Regions from separate parts of the Homo sapiens genome. Here region 1 is linked to region 2. Evidence: promoter capture Hi-C in human tissues and cell types (Jung and others, 2019). All regions are on one chromosome and are shown on one strand. Each heading gives the region's core, a stretch centred on a gene start or on the middle of the fragment in contact. The rest is flanking DNA. Distances are from core to core; before and after follow the strand shown. Region 1 holds the start of IPO13 (importin 13). Region 2 overlaps ST3GAL3 (ST3 beta-galactoside alpha-2,3-sialyltransferase 3).

What was found. The method cuts DNA at HindIII sites, captures the fragments that hold promoters and counts their contacts. A contact is called where the count stands out against the background at its distance.
Region 1: a contact is called between the fragment with the promoter of IPO13 here and a fragment that was not itself captured in region 2, in 2 of the 25 tissues and cell types used here (mesenchymal stem cells and pancreas).

Annotation. Positions count from the first base shown.
Region 1 is chr1:43,945,203-43,949,555 of GRCh38, forward strand. IPO13 (importin 13) reads left to right here and starts at 1,748. Exons shown (of 20, transcript NM_014652.4): 1 at 1,748-2,482; 2 at 4,215-4,353. The coding sequence starts at 2,399. LOC101929609 (a long non-coding RNA gene) reads right to left here and starts at 1,397. Exons shown (of 2, transcript NR_188535.1): 1 at 1,279-1,397. RefSeq lists a silencer at 1,544-1,793. The HindIII fragment of the contact is 10,546 bases long and covers 1-4,353 here.
Region 2 is chr1:43,897,447-43,902,076 of GRCh38, forward strand. ST3GAL3 (ST3 beta-galactoside alpha-2,3-sialyltransferase 3) reads left to right here. Exons shown (of 12, transcript NM_006279.5): 7 at 789-852; 8 at 1,722-1,817; 9 at 2,095-2,281. Among named protein-coding and RNA genes, the nearest start is that of ARTN, 34 kb to the right of the region's middle. RefSeq lists an enhancer at 2,237-3,095. The HindIII fragment of the contact is 8,839 bases long and covers 1-4,630 here.

The DNA.
Region 1 (4,353 bases), core at 498-2,997, 48 kb after region 2:
CTTGAAACCCCATCATGGTTTCATATTGCACTTAGGATAATGTCCAAACTCCTACAAGAATCTATTGCCACCAACTTGTCTTTCCAACCTCATCTCTGTTACTCATACCCTTCCCCTTCCCCACCCCACATATATTCTCTTAAAATGAATATAAATTACTTACTATTCTTTCTTTTCTTTTCTTTTTTTTTTTTAGACGGAGTCTCACTCTGTCGCCCAGGCTGGAGTGCAGTGGCGTGATCTCAGCTCACTGCAAGCTCCACCTCCCGTGTTCAAGCCATTCTCCTGCCTCAGCCTCCCGAATAGCTGGGACTACAGGTGCCTGCCACCATGCCCGGCTAATTTTTTGTATTTTTAGTAGAGACGGGGTTTCACCGTGTTAGCCAGGATGGTCTCGATCTCCTGACCTCGTGATCCGCCCGCCTCAGCCTCCCATAGTGCTGGGATTACAGGCGTGAGCCACCGCGCCCGGCCTACTTGCTATTCTTTATTGATGAAGACTTGCTGAATGACTTAGAGTCCTACTGGATTTTGCTTACCAGCTAAATGGGCCCCTCTCCTTCCCAGGCTCTCTATTCTTCAAGCTCAGATCAAGTTTCTCTTCTCAGGGAAGCCTTCATGGACCTTCTCAGGCCTCAGCAGCTGCTGCCAATGCCAGCTTCCAATGCCAGCTTCCTCCATTTGAACAAAACTACGGAGCTCTTTGCACTTTTAATTTTTTCCTCTTCCCTGCTAGGGTAGCTGGCAGGAGTTAATAAACAATAAAATACAACTGGAGGGGTGACAGGCAGGAACTACCGGGGCCTGTGGCAGACCAGATCTATGGCATGGTCTGCCACCCTGTCTGTGTGCCAGGGGCAAGATAAGCCTAACTTTCCCCAAGCTCGATTTCCTCATCTCATCTGAAAATGATGAATAAAAATATCCACCTCAGAGCTATTAAGAAAACTGAACCTAAGGTAAGCAAAGTCCTGCTCCTAGCACTTAAATGTAAGCTACTCTTACTCTAGTTACACATAAAGTTACTTCCAAAAACCTTACGAAATTCCCCGAGCACTGTCCATGGTATGTGGTTTCCCGGTTGCTTATTGGGTGGTCCCGAGAGCCTTCCTTTTTTCCTTCCTGAGGCGTGCCAAGTCCCCTCTCCTCTTCTCTGGGTGGTGCTGACGCCTTCTTCCCAGGCTGCACCTTTGCTGGGCCGGAGGATGCCCCCGGCAGCGGAGCGCCAGAGTGACCAGGCAACCTCCCCAGCCTCCACCCTCTAGCCCGGGCTCCCACCTCCGTCCTCCGGCCCCTCGAGTCACGTCGTCCTACTAAGGAGTTGGGCCGCAGCGCCCCGCGCCGGTCTGACCCGGAATGCCTGCTCGCCGCGGTAGGCCGAGGACAGGCGGGGCTCTGCAGGTCCCCAACCCACGTGCTCCCGGCCTCCTCCGCAGGGCGCCGCCTTCCGGCTAGGCGCAACACGGACTACATTTCCCAGGGTGAACAGCGGCGGGGCCTAGACTCGGCCGCGGCCTGGGGCGGCGAGCCGCTCCACCGCCTGCTCAGGGGAGTGCGAGCTGGCGCGAGGACAGGGCTAAGGACCCGGAATGAGTTTCCGCGCAGTTCCGCTGGGCCGTGCCGGCCTGTACCGGGCCGTGCCGAGCCAGAACTGGCAGGAGTGGGGGCCTGAGTTGGAGGTGCCGGGGACAGGCGCTCGGGGCAGCCCGCGCCTTGCCGAGGTCCCTGCCCCGTCCCGGCCGGCCTGGCTTGTCTTGTCAGTCACTGGGGCGGAGGCAGCGGCTGTAGCGGGGCTGTAGCCGGGCGTTGAGCACAGCGCGGGCCAGGCCGAACGGAAGGGACCTGCCACAGCCCCTCAACTCCACGGACTCTTCGCCCTAGACTAGCGGAGCTGCATCTCCGCGCTTCGTTGGACGCCTCCGTAACCACGAAGGGCTCTCTCTCTCCCGTGACCCTCCAGCCCCATGACCTGTTCATAGCAGCCGAGAGCTCACCCAGGCGGGGGTGTTGTGGGTACAGGCCATCGACCCTGTGACCCCTCAAGAGCCAGGGACTCGGTTTCCCCCGCAGGCCTCCCTCCCCTGTGACTCCCTCCACACAGATTCTGGGGACAGAGCTGTTACCTGCCACTAGGATCCCCGCCTGAGAGCTCCTCACTGACGGCTCCCTCCTCGGAGTCCCCTTCATTGGGTCTCCTAAGAGCACCAATTTTGGTCTCTGGCAAGCCTCCCACCCCCAAACGAGGTGGGGAGGCCTCGGCAGCCATGCCCGCCCTGGGCCCCCCCTCACCCCACCACTCCCTGGGCACCCAAGCCGGGGTCTAGCAGGGGGCCAGCAGCCAAGGGGCTGGGGCAGGAGACAGATCAGGGCCCACCTCCCTGCCAGGGAGGGAGCAAAGATGGAGCGGCGGGAGGAGCAGCCGGGGGCTGCAGGGGCTGGAGCAGCACCAGCCTTGGACTTCACTGTGGAGAACGTGGAGAAGGTATGAGGGCTCTGGGGTGGGCACTCCAGTGACAGAGCAGAAGTTCTGGGGACTGTCACTGATGGCAGAGCTCAGGCCTGGGCTGGGTGCCCGCTGGTATGGTGCCCCCAGAGCACCTGGCATTTGCTCTCTTTCTGGGCAGGCAGTATTGCAGTGCCCTAATGGGCTATTTTTGTCTTTCCTTACAGGCAGGTCCCCTGTGGATAGATACTCTAGGGTCTTGGGATGGTCCCTTCAGGGTGCTGTGACTTAGCCTTCCGTCCAGACTGGCTATGTTCCAGCTCCATGGGAACTGCATGAGCAGTGCAGTAGGAAACTGGGAACCCAGGAGACCTGCAGCTCAGTCTCCTGGAATTATACTGATGCCAAACCATCCTGGACCTGGTTTTGTTGAGCCAAGGGCTCAGAAAATAATCTGGAACTAAAACAATCTGGGTTGTTTTGACTCTTTGGAGAAGGGTCCTTCCTTTATTGGATGGAAGCCAGACCAGTCCTGAGCAGGCAGGCCTGGGGCTGTCTCCCTTTGTTTTGTGCTGAGTCCAAGGGTCCTGGCCCTGCTGGGAGCCTTACAGGGCTCCTCCCTACTCGCCTGCCCACATAGCTCCCTGCCATGGCCCTCCCAGGCTCCCCGACTGCCCAGCCCATCTTTCTGAACTGCCTCTTTGGTTCTTTTCTGTATCTGCTCCCTACAACTTGAAATGCAGGAATGCATGCACCCTGGGATGAATGGGGAGATGGGGCTCCCTTACTTGAAAGCAGGGAATGATGTTCACTTGTTATCCTTAACCCCCGTTTGCCATAACAAACAATGAGGATGCATCTCTTCTGCCTGCTTTGGCGTCCCTGAGGGGCCAAACAAGGGCCAATGGCCATAACTGGCTGTCAGGGGTACAAATAGAGCTAAGCTTACTTGGATGGAGCCTGCTTAGGGGTCAGGGTCCTGGCCATACTCTTCCGCCCCTTGGAGCAGGGCAGTGTTGGCATGGTGGCGCACTGTTCCATGTGCTATTGGGAGATAAATCTCACTGTTTTCTTACTTCATAAAGTCCCGTTGGAATTGAGACCCCGGGGATTCTGCTAGTGGAGAGCACTAAGCTAGGTGTTTGCCAGGGCTGCAGCTATGGCCAAGGCTTCTCTGGATCAATTGGTTGGACATGTGCCCTCTGAGGAGTGTTCTCACCCTCTCCTCCAGCATGTCTGCCCCAGGGCTGCCTGGCAAAAGTCTTAGTCCTGCTCTGATTTCACACTGGCTTTGGTGCCAGCATCTGGACTGACCTAGGGATGATCCTGGGGGAGCTGAAAGGAGCTGTTGGAGTTGATGGGAGCAGCTGTGCCTGGGAGGGTCAAGTCCCCTCAAGCTGTTCCATGCCCTTCTCAGACTTAGCTTCATCCCTGTGAAGCTGTTCCTTCCACCTGGGCCTTGCCCTCAAGTGCCTCCCCTTTGGGGAGATCAGCCTCCTCTTTTTTGCTTTCCTGTGGAGATTCCCTCTCTGAACCCATAATGTTTTGCTGTAAGGAGAAGAGGATATGGTAGAGCATGGGCAAGGTTCAGGCTCTCAAGATATCAGCAGGACCCCAGGCCCAGGAAACACTGCAGAGCGCTGAGCTCTCCCTGCTCAGCCCCCCAGTCAGGGAGAGGGAGCAGCCTTGCAGGACCAAGTCACGCCTCTGTTCTGGGCTCTGGCAGGATCCAGAGTGGCCAGCACCTGCTCAGTCCTGTGCTGTCCTGCAGGCGCTGCACCAGCTCTACTATGATCCCAACATTGAGAATAAGAACCTGGCTCAGAAGTGGCTGATGCAGGCCCAGGTCTCCCCACAGGCCTGGCACTTCAGCTGGCAGCTACTGCAGCCCGACAAGGTACCAGAGATCC
Region 2 (4,630 bases), core at 330-2,829:
TTGACTCCAAAGCCAATACCCTTGCTATTCACTATACATCATATTATAGTGCTCTCATGATACCAGAGTTTGGAAGAGCAGTCCTTATTGCCAAAGCCAGAGAGAGGCCAAGGAGATGAGGTCTAAATAGTGGGCACAGGTCTGAGAGCACAGAAGTCATGGGGGTCTTTGCTGAATGGAGTGCAGGTGGGCAGAGCCAGGCTCAGGGAGTAAAGAGGTGAGGAGGTAAAGACAGCCTGGCAAAGAGCAGGATTCAGGATTGGCAATGTGAGAGGGAGGAAGTGAGGGAAAGGTGATGTCAGATAATGAGGCACGTGGTGAGCTCTTCAGTTGCTGGGTGTCTCCTCATTTGTTTCCTGGTATCTGCTGGGTGGGAGCACAGAGATAAGTACAAGGTGGTCTCTAGCTCTGAGCAGGTACTCCCATTCCAGGGAGACTGCGTGCGCCAGCTTCCAGGGAAGGCCCTGGCCTGGGAATGCATGTCCTGGGGCCTGACTACAGAGCCTCAGAAAACCAGATGAGCCTCCCAGAAGCCTGGGAGAGAAGCTGCGTGCCAGTGTTAGGGACGGGCTCCCGGCAGTGATATGCCTGTCTGTTTCCTGCCATCACCTCCTTTCTCAGGAAGAAAGTCAGGGCAGTGGCCCAATACATCCTTGTGTCCAGAGCTCTCTCCACTTCCACTTTCACTCTAGCCCCTAGGGACTTGTGTCTTCCAGTAGGATTATCAGTAAACATTTTATAGAAAGGTAAGTGACCCTGTAACAGAAACCTCTCTCCTCTGTCTGCAGACAATCTGATCAAAGCCATCTTGTCAGTCACCAAAGAGTACCGCCTGACCCCTGCCTTGGACAGGTGAGCCACACACTGTGCAGCCTCCTACCCACCGCTGCCTGGTGGTGTGCAGAGGTGTTGAGGCCCAGCTGGCCTTCCCTGGACATGGGCAGTTTCTCCAGCACATCCACACATGCACATACAGTACACACACAGGGTGGGTGGAGCAGGTAAGTGGAACCACTCCACCTGACTTGCACCCCCACGGGCTGTCAGCACTTGGCAGGACATCCCAGTCCTCAGATACCAGAGGTTTGAGGGTAAGAACTGAACACACTGGGGCTGGGACTAGCCCAGCAATGGGACTGAGGGCCTGGGTGGCGGGGGCAGGTGAAGGGGGCAAGGCTTAAGTCCAGAAGGCAGTGACAGCTCCCAAACCAACAGACCCTAGAGCAGGAAGCCCCAGGGTCAGGGATGGGAGAAGCAAGATGGGTAAGCTCTCTAGTGGCTGCTGGGAGCCTTGAGTCCTAGAGCCTCCTGTCCCGTTCCCCTTTTCTTGCTTTCCTGGTATAGCCCCAAGCTCGGCCCACTTTTCCCTCTCCCCTGAAGCCTGCCTAAACACCACTACCCCTTGGGGAACCTTTACCCTAGAATGTCATCTTACCAAAGCTCCCTCCTCACCACCCACGCCTGGCACCCAAGCCTTTCCATGGCCCTGTTTTCCTGGGGAAGTGTCAGGGCCTAGATAGAGATGCTGGAGAGTCTCAGGGCCCAGCTACCCATTGTATGGTTCAGGCCTTCTCTCAGAAATGCTGCCAGAAGCCCATTGGTCTTCTTCCTCTATCCCAGCCTGGTCCTGGACAAGGGCGTGGGGTCAAGGGCCAAAGGAGCAGGGAAAGAGACCTGGTGGGCAGCTCTCTGTACAGAGGTCTCCGCCTCTCTCCCCTCAGCCTCCGCTGCCGCCGCTGCATCATCGTGGGCAATGGAGGCGTTCTTGCCAACAAGTCTCTGGGGTCACGAATTGACGACTATGACATTGTGGTGAGGTGAGCTCCCCAAAATGGCACCTCGGGTGAGTGTCGTGGCCCCAACCCTTAGTCCTGAGCCCATTGAGAACTGTCTGTCTGGCTAGTTGGGCTGGAGGTCAACGGAAGCCTCAAGAACTCTGGGTTGGAGGGCTTTGGAACAGACAACTAGCGGGGGCACCTGGGGAGAATAGGTCCAGGTGACCTGGACTCCCTATTCTCCATGCCTGGGATAGTCTGGGGTCATGGTGCCTTCCCAAACACAGGCCCAGGCTCTGAGTGGGCCTGCTCTCTGTAGACTGAATTCAGCACCAGTGAAAGGCTTTGAGAAGGACGTGGGCAGCAAAACGACACTGCGCATCACCTACCCCGAGGGCGCCATGCAGCGGCCTGAGCAGTACGAGCGCGATTCTCTCTTTGTCCTCGCCGGCTTCAAGTGGCAGGACTTTAAGTGGTTGAAATACATCGTCTACAAGGAGAGAGTGGTAAGCTCTCCTGGCACCAGCTTCTTCCCCTCTTGCCCTGGGCTTCCGCAACTCCTAAGCAATCCCGCCCCTTGAATGCAGCAAAGAACGAGTAAGAACCTTCAAAGGAAACATTAATGACCCAAAGCCGAAATCACCCAATGGCAACCAGGGGGCAAAGAGGTCAGGAGATTGCCCGGGTTACTGGCCAAACTCCAGGAGCCAATATGCCTGAAACCTGCTACCTGCTTCCAGGTGCCCAGGTGCAGATCCTTTCTCAGCCTTCTGTAGCCAGACCCCAGCAGCCCCAGGGGCCCTTCCCTGGCCTTAGATCTCCTGGCCAAGGGAAGCTCTGTCTCTCAGGCCAGCCTTCGTATCACTCCCAATCTTTCTACTTTCCTGCCCTGACCTTGTAGCTGCCTCCCTTGCACCCTCTTCTCCTCTGTAAGGTCTCTCTGGCTCTGGTCTTAGGGGTCCCTGCCCTCTTTCTCAGCCTGGGTTCTGCAGGGACAGCAGACCCCTCAACTTGAGAGTGCCAGCTCCCAAACTTAGAAGTCCTGGCCTGTTTCCACTTTGTACTTTTACCACTGACTTATAGTTGAATTCCCAACCTGCCACTGAGTCTGATCATTGGGAATGATCAGGTTCTACTGACTGTTCTAAGCAGGTAAGGGTCTGGGCCCATTTCTTTAGGGAGCTTATGTGGCAGAGTAAGGTCAACTGCTCTTTAGGAGACCACCACTGAGTTCCCTCCCGAGACCTCTACTTCCCAGCTCTGGGCCTACAGGGACATCCGTGAACTTGTCCAGGCCCACTCCCCCACAACCAGCTGTCACCAGCAGCCCCAGGGGTGGGGTACTGCAGAGCTCAGGCCATTCATCTTCTAATACCCAAGCCTCTTGCTAGAGGAGGATGGTGACAGACGGCCCTCTGCCTACAGTGAGAAGCTGATTGTTCTTTCCAGAGGTTTAGAGAAGAGTTGGGAGTGGGAACAGCTTCCTTTGCCTTTAGGGTCTCAGTGCAATTTGGTTTAACTCCACAGCTCTTTCCCAAGCAAGGCCAAGTACAGGCAGTGTCAAGTAGGTAGCAAGCAAGAGAGAAGACAGAAGTCAGGTCCAGAAATTCAGGTAGGTGGGACAGTGGGGAAGGGGAATCCATTTCAGAACCAGACTGGATGAGACACCTGGGCTCCACAGTGTCCAGTCCACCTCCCCAAAGGGGAGGAAAGGGCCAGGCAGCAGAGTGATGATTTGGCCTTAGCCAGGCCCAACTTCAAGCAGGCCCACTGCCCACACAGACCAGGTAAATAACAGCGGTTCCAGGAGTACCCTACTGTTTTCAGAACCCTGGGGACTGAGACACTAGTGTTTTCAGAGTCCCTCTCTTTGCCTTGAGGGCAGTAGAATTAGGGTCACAGATAGACACTTTTAAGGGAGAATGGTAGGAAATAGAGTCTGTCCTGGTGAACCCCAGTGAGCCTAAGGGCTGCTGTCTCACTCTGGCCTTCTGCCATCCTCCTTTCACATCGTTTCCTCTGCCCATGGGCACCTGTCACAGCCTCCCTCAGGGCAAGAGCTCCTAAGGGGCAGAGCTTGATCCCATTGGTTTTTACCCTTCAGTGCTCAGTCACCATAAATGATCTGGAATTGGCTCAAACACCAGTTCCTACTTCCCACTGGACAGACTGGGAAAAGCCAGGCAGTTCAAATAAGGCCAGGCCAAAGGGGTGGGTCAGAGCCTGTCATGGGTGTTATCACATGTTCCTTCCAAGAACACCAATGTCAGTTAATTCAAGGTTCTTAAAATTCATCCAAGGGAGTAAGGAAAGAAAGAAGAAAAGGAAGGAAGCCAGCTAGAGTCGGAGAACTCACTATACTCAGGCTACTCAGGAAGCAGACAGCAGGGCCTTGCTTTTCCCAGGAAGCTGAGGAGCTCTCCGCCTGGCCTGGCCTTGGCAGCAGGCAGATTCAAGGTACCAGCATTGCAGGACGAGGCACAGGCACAGGCTCACTCTTGATGACATCTGTGTCCGTCCTGGCCACACCCAGGGCTCTAGGACTAGCCTTGTATTGGTGAGAACTCCTACCCAGGGTGGGTGGGGGTGAGTGGGAAGGGAAGACAGGAGACAGGGAGGAGTCCTCTGAATTACTGTGGGCCTTCCTTGGCTCCAAAGTGAAAGATAATTTGGACCTTTAGAGTGAGCTGCCAGAGGAATGCCGGGGTTGCCCGTGGCCTCACCTCTCCCATCTCTCAGAGTGGACCTGCCCAGGCCCTTTGGCTGCCCAAGGGACCTCTTCTTTAGTGTCCTTCTCCACCCCAAGCCCAAGGCTAATGCCTTCCCAGGACCTCACCCATGCTCTGCCTCACTTC